Regions from separate parts of the Homo sapiens genome. Here regions 1 and 3 are each linked to region 2. The links are contacts of gene promoters, found by promoter capture Hi-C in blood cells and fetal thymus (Javierre and others, 2016). All regions are on one chromosome and are shown on one strand. The core of a region is centred on a gene start or on the middle of the fragment in contact, and the rest is flanking DNA. Distances in the headings are between cores, read along the strand shown. Region 1 has its middle 6.7 kb from the start of AWAT1. Region 2 holds the start of GDPD2 (glycerophosphodiester phosphodiesterase domain containing 2). Region 3 holds the start of P2RY4 (pyrimidinergic receptor P2Y4).

Evidence for each region. Contacts are between HindIII fragments. The CHiCAGO score rates a contact against its expected background, and 5 or more counts as called.
Region 1: a contact is called between a fragment that was not itself captured here and the fragment with the promoter of GDPD2 in region 2, in 4 of 17 cell types (naive CD8 T cells, naive CD4 T cells, total CD8 T cells and 1 more). The highest score is 7.2, in naive CD8 T cells.
Region 3: the fragment with the promoter of P2RY4 here is called in contact with the fragment with the promoter of GDPD2 in region 2 in 1 of 17 cell types (naive CD8 T cells); the score reaches 5.2 in naive CD8 T cells.

The regions. Positions count from the first base shown.
Region 1 is chrX:70,226,511-70,229,329 of GRCh38, reverse strand. No RefSeq gene overlaps it. Among named protein-coding and RNA genes, the nearest start is that of AWAT1, 6.7 kb to the left of the region's middle. The HindIII fragment of the contact is 4,506 bases long and covers 1-2,819 here.
Region 2 is chrX:70,421,696-70,424,620 of GRCh38, reverse strand. GDPD2 (glycerophosphodiester phosphodiesterase domain containing 2) reads right to left here and starts at 1,307. Exons shown (of 16, transcript NM_017711.4): 1 at 1,239-1,307. RefSeq lists enhancers at 364-1,352, 1,353-2,341. The HindIII fragment of the contact is 11,609 bases long and covers 1-2,925 here.
Region 3 is chrX:70,258,596-70,261,570 of GRCh38, reverse strand. P2RY4 (pyrimidinergic receptor P2Y4) reads left to right here and starts at 1,367. Exons shown (of 1, transcript NM_002565.4): 1 at 1,367-2,975. The coding sequence starts at 1,947. The HindIII fragment of the contact is 18,804 bases long and covers 1-2,975 here.

The DNA.
Region 1 (2,819 bases), core at 170-2,669, 200 kb after region 2:
GGTATCTGGGTGGTCCTGGCCACCCTTCCTGAATGACATATTTTTAAAAAAGTAATAGCTAAAAGAAAACCTGGGAATGTGGAGAACTGGTTGTTAGTAAGGACATGATCCTTTCCTTTTGTTTTTGTTTTCTTAATGTGACATCAAGAAATTGTAGTAATCGTAATCCTTGGCGAATGACATACTTTCATTGTTTTATGAATGTCCTTCTTTTCTATCTATGTATCCATGTATCTATGTATCTATGTATCTGTGTATCTATCTATCTATCTACCTACCTACCTACCTACCTTTATTGATCCAGGTTTTTCCAGTTGGAATTTCCCTCTCGAGCACTACACATGTAAAGTACTGTCTTGCCCCTGGATCACAAGTTAGCCGCTAGTTATCTGGCCTTGGTCTTCGCTTTCTTCTCTGAGAGCTGAAGGTATCTTCTTGATGCTACAGCTTTGGTAATAGAATTCTTCTTTCCCTTATCTTCAGTCCCTGGCCTGTAAGCATTCATCAGAGCAGATTCAAACTCTCAAGTGAGTTCTGTCATAATAGGATGTGGGCAGCAAATAGCTAAAATAGGTCACGGAGGATGAAGAGGTGTCAACATTCTCCTAAGCCAATGTTTGGTCATATGAGGATCTAGGTATCAAGACACAACTTGATGTTCTAAGATCTGGAAGGTCAGCAAGTAGGGAGGTCAAGGCAAAAATAAACCAAGAGGGAAGGCCACTCCAAAAAGCGGCAAAGCCAGTGGAAACCACCCAGGCCTAGTCCTAGGTCAAAGGTTAGTGGATATCAAAAGGGCAAGTGATCTTGGTCTCTCTGTCTGGATGATTAGAACAATCAGACAGGAGTCTTGCCATTGTCACACCTGCTTTGACATGCTGGGCCAAGCTGTCATGCAGTGTCACTGGCTAACCTCAGCTTATACCCAAGTTACCCTACCTGCCTCTGGCTTTCTGCCTTTTCATTTTAAACATGTTTTTGTGCAAAACAATTGGATGAATTCATGCTGTAGGGTGTGTGTGTGTGTGTGTGTGTGTGTGTGTGTGTGTGTGTGTATAACTAGCCAAGGTAGGGGCAGCAAAGATCGAGGATTTAATGCAGTGTGATAGCTGCAGGAGTGAAAACCATGGTGTGCAAAGAATCTCTCATATCACAGAATGTGGCTAGGCAAATGCTATCTGGCAAGCTGCTTCCGTTTCTCCAACATGACTGAACTGTGAGGGACTGAGAACCCATCAGTCTGAAGGGCAATGGTTTATTGGCTGCAAACTCTCCGGGGCCTAGGCACCCACCAGGGACTCTTTCTCATTCATTCTCAAGTCCAGGAATGGCTGCCTGTGCCCACTGGGTAACAGCCATTCATCTCATACATTATATCCTTCATAAGTAGTTAACCCCATTGGCCCCTCGATGTTTCTGGAAGATCTTAGTTTCCCACTCTTTTCACCTTTGGTGTCAGAGAGACTACAAGGGACATCAAGATCATAAAACTGGGCTGGGCGTGGTGGCTCGCACCTGTAATCTTAGCACTTTGGGAGGCCGAGGCAGGTGGATTACTTGAGGTCAGGAGTTCAAGACCAGCCTGGCCAACATGGTGAAACCCCATCTCTACTAAAAATACAAAAAATTAGCTGGACATGGTGGTGGGCGCCTGTAATTCCAGCTACTCGGGAGGCTGAGGCAGGAGAATCACTTGAACCCGGAGGCGGAGGTTGCAGTGAGCTGAGATCACGCCATTGCACTCCAGCCTGGGCAACAAGAGCGAAACGCCATCTGAAAAAAAAAAAAAGAATCATAAAATTTTTCATCTTATCTTCTGGGAGAAGTAGCTGGTGTGGCTTGATGTTTCCAAGGCTTCGTCTTTATCTTCTAAGAGATGGCATGCTTGCCAAAGTTACTGTAGCTGCTGGGGCTGCGGGCAGAGAGGGATACCCTTCACTGCAGGGTAGTGGGGAATTACATAAACTTTTATTGTCCTTAATATGTTCTCAAAACTAAACTAAACTTAGTGTATGGTTTATTCAACCTCTGGGAATGAGAAAAACATCTTTTATGCCCCAAAGCTGTGACCTGTTACATAGAGGAGGCAGGGAGACCTAGAAGGAGTCAAGACCTACAAGCTGAGCCAGAGGTTGCAAACTCAAATGTCTCTAGGGATCAGAGATATAGAGATGAGGGAACCAGGCTGAGAGTTGTAACAAGGAATGGTGGGGAGTATGTTGACCCAGAGAGGGCGTGTTCCTTCTAAAGGCCTTCAAATTTAGTTTCTCCAACTATTTTTAGAAAAAACTTCAAACATACAGGAAGGTTGAAAGAATAGTATAATAAACAACTGTATATCATCTACCTCTCAAATTCAACAATTAATATTGTGCATATTTATCTCTCTGTACATATATGCATATGTACATGTATACATGTATACATGTTTTATGTGGACAGCACGGTTATGGTTGTTTTTAAATTTGAAATGGTTCAGAAAAACAAGACACACATACATACATATATGCATCTGACTTAAGAAATAGATGCTACCAGTAGTTTCTAAGGCCCCTGTGTGCCTGTCCCTGTTCTCATTCCCCCGTGCCCTCCCCTACCATGAGTAACTGATGTGTTTGTCTATTATTCCCTTGATTTTATTTACAGTTCCATCACATATGTATGTCTCCTTAAACAATAAAACATTTAGGTTTGTCTGCTTTTGACATAGAAACATTACACACACACACACACACACACACACACACACACACACAGTATTCTTCTGTTACTTGATTGTTTTCACTCAACACTATGATTTTGATACTCATCTTTGTTGA
Region 2 (2,925 bases), core at 58-2,557:
GTAAGAACTCAAGAGAAACTGCCCAGGGTGGGACAAACTCAGTTCAGCAAGTTAAAGCAGGTTTGGCCAAGCTGGAGGCAACCCCATGTTGAATTGCTTTCCAGCCCAGGAAGCAGGAGTAACCTGAAGCAAAGGTTACAGTTCTGACCTGGGGCTAAGGAAGGCCCAGCTAGTTGGCCAGTTGCTATGGTTATAGAGATTATTCAGATCACAAATCCCTGAAAGATTCTCTGTGTCCACCTCTCAGGGGACAAAGGGCACTGCCAAAAAGAGAAAGACTTGAGGTGAACATGTTGCCTGGGTCACTCCCAGTCTTCTAAAGGAATCTTTGGATTTTCAAAATACAGAGCCTCCCCTCAAGTCCTGCCCTTTCCTGCCCAGTCATCCCCCAACCCCAACCAGAAGCCCAGACTCGCCTTTAGGAGCCCCACCCTCTAAGTTAGCTTTGGTGAAAGTACAACAAACGCAGGGCAAAGGTGTGTATGCGGGGTGTGGTTGTCTTGGGGCAGGGGACCCCTGTACCTTATGCTTCTGGGTTTGGCTGACTGAGCTGATCCCCAGACTTGGCTGGGTACGTGACTGATTCTACGCGAGACGGTATGTGATTTGTGTCAGCATTTGCACGCGACAGCACAACTGGCTGTCGGTACAATATGATTTTAGGTGACTTTGAGTATGTAAAGGAGCCCCTGGATACACCCAAAGTGTGTGAGCATGTGTGCGTGCGGGCTGAGGGACAGGACCTCTTGTCCTCAGAGCTCTCCCGAGGCTATGGAGTCTTAGAGGGGTGCACAGTGGGTGGGTCCGGTAAGCAGGAAGGTGTGGCTGCTTCTGAACTGCCCTCTTTATGCTGCCTTGGGAAAGGAGGGTTAGGGTAGGGGTGAGGAGCTGGAGCTGGGGGAAGGAAACCCCTCCCCTCTACGAGACCCTTCCCGGTAAAAAGCCAACCCAAAGGGAAGCCCTTGCCTCTGCCCATCTTGGAGCTGGTTTGATAGCCTGCTCTAAGCTCTTGCCTCCCCTGGGGTCCTACCCCTGCACCCCAGACACTGCCTTCCAGAGTCCCCTCCCTTCAGGAGCTGCCTGTAGGATGGGATCAGGGTCTGAGCAGCCTGAAAACCCCAAGTAGGGTTGCTGACAGGGGTGCCATTCAATCCCCCGGCCCAATCCCAGTGGGATGGAGCTGGTCTCTGCTCCACAGCTCCCACCTGTAGCCCCCCAGCCTTCCCGAACCCTCACACCTTTGCTCAGCGGCAGCTCCGCTCCGCTCTCCTCTCTGCACTGCTTCCCAGCTCCTCTCCGAGTGGTCTGCCTCCTCCCTTTTTCAGTCCTCGGTTCAGCCCTATGAGTCAAACAGGTGGCACTGTTGCCACCTACAGGAGGCTGTGTGGGTCCTCTCCCAAGGCCTGCAGCTGCTCTGTGGCCTGGGCACAGCCCGGGTGGGAAGATGGGAGGGAGGAAGCGGGAGGGAGAGCAAATCTGCTTCTTTACTCGCTGGCGGTCAGGGGGCTTGGGGTGAGGAATTCCTTTGTGCAGGCTTTCCCATCCCTCTGTCCCTCCTCCTGTTCCCCTCCCAGTCACTGCCGGGGCTTTGTCCTGGCTCAGGGAGGCGAGGGCTGAGGGCACAGGCTGGCGGGAAGCTGGTGTGTGTGGGGGGGGGAGGTGACCACACAACTTTGCAACTTGGCAGTGAGGAGAAGAGGCCCAGCCAGCCCACTGGAAAGGCGTGTGTGTGTGTGTGTGTGTGCGTGTGTGTAAGCCTAACATCAAGTCTCAAGCTCCCTGGAAATACAGCCTTGATTCATTAGGCTCCCTCCCCTATTGAGCTCCTACTTCTAATTCAGCAAGGTGCATGTATAAGAAGCTGCAGCCTGGCGCGGTGTCTTACACCTGTAACCCCAACACTTTGGGAGGCCGAGGCGGGTGGATCACCTGAGGTCAGGAGTTCAAGACCAGCCTGGCCAACATGGTGAAACCCTGTCTCTACAAAAAATACAAAAATTAGCCAGGCATGATGGTGTGCACCTACCAAAGACTAGGTAGTTGCATGGGACATCTCACAAGGCCAGGTTTAAAGCAAAGACAAGCCTTGGTCATTTGTCCCAGCTACTTGGGAGGCTGATGTGGGAGGATTGCTTGAGCCCAGGACGTCGAGGCTGCAGTGAGTTGAGATTGTGCTACTGTGCTCCAGCCTGGGCAACAGAAGCTGCAAGCTACTTCCTGAACTCTGGATAGCAAGTTGCCGTTTCTGGACCAGAGGTCCCCATGGGCCTTGTGGATCCTGGGTGACACTAGCAGTTCTCCCACCTTCCCTCATCACCCCAGACAGGAGATGCTCATTCAGGACTTGTGTCATTTCTGCTGCCTTGTCCCTAAGGCATATGAGTCTCTTTCCAAGAATCTTTTGAGGAGTGTAGAGTATATTGGGGTCACAGGCTTTTGGAAGATGAACACATAGAAAAGATGCTGTTACTATAGCATCAGCATCAGCAGGGAAGGGCTGGCTAGCACACTATAGTTTGCTTAGTGCTAAAGCACAGGGGTCTGGGTGGGATGGGGGCCAGGGGCTGGCTTGGTTGACCTCTCCCTCTACATTACGCCTGATGTGGTGACTCGAGGTCTGGGGGCTATTAGTGCAGTGTTGGTGGGAAAGGATGTTTTCTCTGGGGATAAGCCTGCTTACCCCTCCCCCAACACACACTGGATTTCAAACAGTGAGAAGGAAGACTGGCTCTCTTATGCCAAGAGCTGGCCCCCCTCCCACTCAGGCTTCCCATTGTATCCAGAGGCTCTAGTTGGCAATGGCAGAGGCTCCCTTGCTCCCTCGGCATTAAAATGCAAAGAGAAGCAGGGCTGCTTGCTGGCAGGAGGCCAGGGAGGACCAGCAGGTCACCTAGTCCATGGCAGGCTTCATTCTAGGCAGATTGT
Region 3 (2,975 bases), core at 118-2,617, 160 kb after region 2:
TTACTTATAGACAGGGTCTTGCTTTGTCATTCAGGCTGGAGTGCAGAGGTCTGACCATAGTTCACTGCAACCTCAAACTGCTGGGCTCAAGTGATCCTCCTATCTCCGACTCCCAAAGCACTGGGATTACAGGTGTGAGCCACTGTGCCTGGTTTCATTCCTAATATTTAAAACAACAACCCTCTCTATTACCCTTTTCCTTCCCTCTTTATTACCCTTTTCCTTCCCTCTTTAATTTTTCTCCATAATGATGATCACAATCTACATATTTTACTTATTAATTTTATTATCCCCCAGTAGTATGTAAGCACCATTAGGGTGGGAGTTTTTATCTATTTTGTCCACTCCTAAGGAACTACCAGTAACTAGAACTGGACCAGGCAAAAGTAGGCTCTCAGTAAATATTCGTGGTTTTAAAAAAATTATTTATATTTGAGACAGGGTCTCACTTTGTCACCCAGATTGGAGTGCAGTGGCGCGATCACAGCTCACTGCAGCCTCAACATCCCAGGTTCAAGCACTCCTCCTGCCTCAGCCCCCCATGTAGCTGGGACATCAGGTGCATGCCACCACGCCCGACTAATTTTTTGTAGAGACAGGGTTTTGCCACGTTGTCCAGGCTTGTCTTGAACTCCTGAGCTCCAGCGATCTGCCTGCCTCTGTCTGCCATAAATATTTGTTGATTCTTTCCTGGATCATAGCCAGTGGCTTAGAGAGGCAACTTAAGCATAGCAATTAAGTTATGGATGCTAGAGCCTGATCCAAAGGCAGGCCTGTCTTGGTTCAAATCTTGACTCTACCACTAACTAGCAAGACACCTAAACTTTCTGTGCCTTCATTTTTTCATCAGCAAAGCAGAGACAATAATAGTATCTAGCTCATAGAGAGCCTATGGGGTCATTAATAAGTATAAAGCACTTAGAAAAATGCCTGTCACATAGTAAGTGCTATATAAGCATTCTTTGTAATTATATGCATATGAGATTTATATTAAATATCAGTAGTTTAGATTTTCTAAAATCTTTCAATGTGTTGTCTTGCACTTGCCCATGTGAAAATTCGTTTCCCATGTTTCTGCTCACTTACACAGGCTTGTATGATCCCCCTGTAATCTATCTCCAGGGACCTGGCTCTTCATCAGTAAACTTGGATGTTTCCTCGTGTTCTCCCTCCTGCAGTCATTTCAAAGCTGTTAAATAGTAATCTCGCTGGGCCCCAGTTTCCCAATCTGTACAATGAGTGGGTTGGACTAGGTCATCGTAAAGGGCCTTTCTAACTCTTTTAATCTCCCAGGTGGGAGGAGGGACAGGCCCCACCTCCAACTCCACCTCCTTGGATATGCCCTCTGGCTGCCAAGGGGAAGGGTGACAGAGTCAGCTGAGCTCAGCTTCAAGGGGACCAGGTAGGAGATGTGCCAACGTTCTTGGGCAAGGGTGGCAATGGGGCTCCTGGGCTGTAGGCAGGCAGTGGGGAAGGTGTCATAGGTAAATGTCATCTGGAGACACTGTGACCAGGGCACTAGGAGAGGCGAAGGCACTGTGGGGAGAGACACTCCTCTTCCAGGGATATAGCTGTGATGACGAGTCAGAAGACACTTTGGGTCTGGGTATCTTCCCACTTTGGATAGTGCTGGGAGGCCTCCACCCTCTTCAGCCAGCCAGGCTCTTAGGGACAGAGTGAGCTGCAGAGTGAGTACAACCCAAATACACGGGCTGCCTGCCTGAGCCCCAGCACTGCCTGCTGCCCACCACTTCCCAAGCTGGACCAAGGGAGCTTGGGTAGGGGCCAGGCTAGCCTGAGTGCACCCAGATGCGCTTCTGTCAGCTCTCCCTAGTGCTTCAACCACTGCTCTCCCTGCTCTACTTTTTTTGCTCCAGCTCAGGGATGGGGGTGGGCAGGGAAATCCTGCCACCCTCACTTCTCCCCTTCCCATCTCCAGGGGGGCCATGGCCAGTACAGAGTCCTCCCTGTTGAGATCCCTAGGCCTCAGCCCAGGTCCTGGCAGCAGTGAGGTGGAGCTGGACTGTTGGTTTGATGAGGATTTCAAGTTCATCCTGCTGCCTGTGAGCTATGCAGTTGTCTTTGTGCTGGGCTTGGGCCTTAACGCCCCAACCCTATGGCTCTTCATCTTCCGCCTCCGACCCTGGGATGCAACGGCCACCTACATGTTCCACCTGGCATTGTCAGACACCTTGTATGTGCTGTCGCTGCCCACCCTCATCTACTATTATGCAGCCCACAACCACTGGCCCTTTGGCACTGAGATCTGCAAGTTCGTCCGCTTTCTTTTCTATTGGAACCTCTACTGCAGTGTCCTTTTCCTCACCTGCATCAGCGTGCACCGCTACCTGGGCATCTGCCACCCACTTCGGGCACTACGCTGGGGCCGCCCTCGCCTCGCAGGCCTTCTCTGCCTGGCAGTTTGGTTGGTCGTAGCCGGCTGCCTCGTGCCCAACCTGTTCTTTGTCACAACCAGCAACAAAGGGACCACCGTCCTGTGCCATGACACCACTCGGCCTGAAGAGTTTGACCACTATGTGCACTTCAGCTCGGCGGTCATGGGGCTGCTCTTTGGCGTGCCCTGCCTGGTCACTCTTGTTTGCTATGGACTCATGGCTCGTCGCCTGTATCAGCCCTTGCCAGGCTCTGCACAGTCGTCTTCTCGCCTCCGCTCTCTCCGCACCATAGCTGTGGTGCTGACTGTCTTTGCTGTCTGCTTCGTGCCTTTCCACATCACCCGCACCATTTACTACCTGGCCAGGCTGTTGGAAGCTGACTGCCGAGTACTGAACATTGTCAACGTGGTCTATAAAGTGACTCGGCCCCTGGCCAGTGCCAACAGCTGCCTGGATCCTGTGCTCTACTTGCTCACTGGGGACAAATATCGACGTCAGCTCCGTCAGCTCTGTGGTGGTGGCAAGCCCCAGCCCCGCACGGCTGCCTCTTCCCTGGCACTAGTGTCCCTGCCTGAGGAT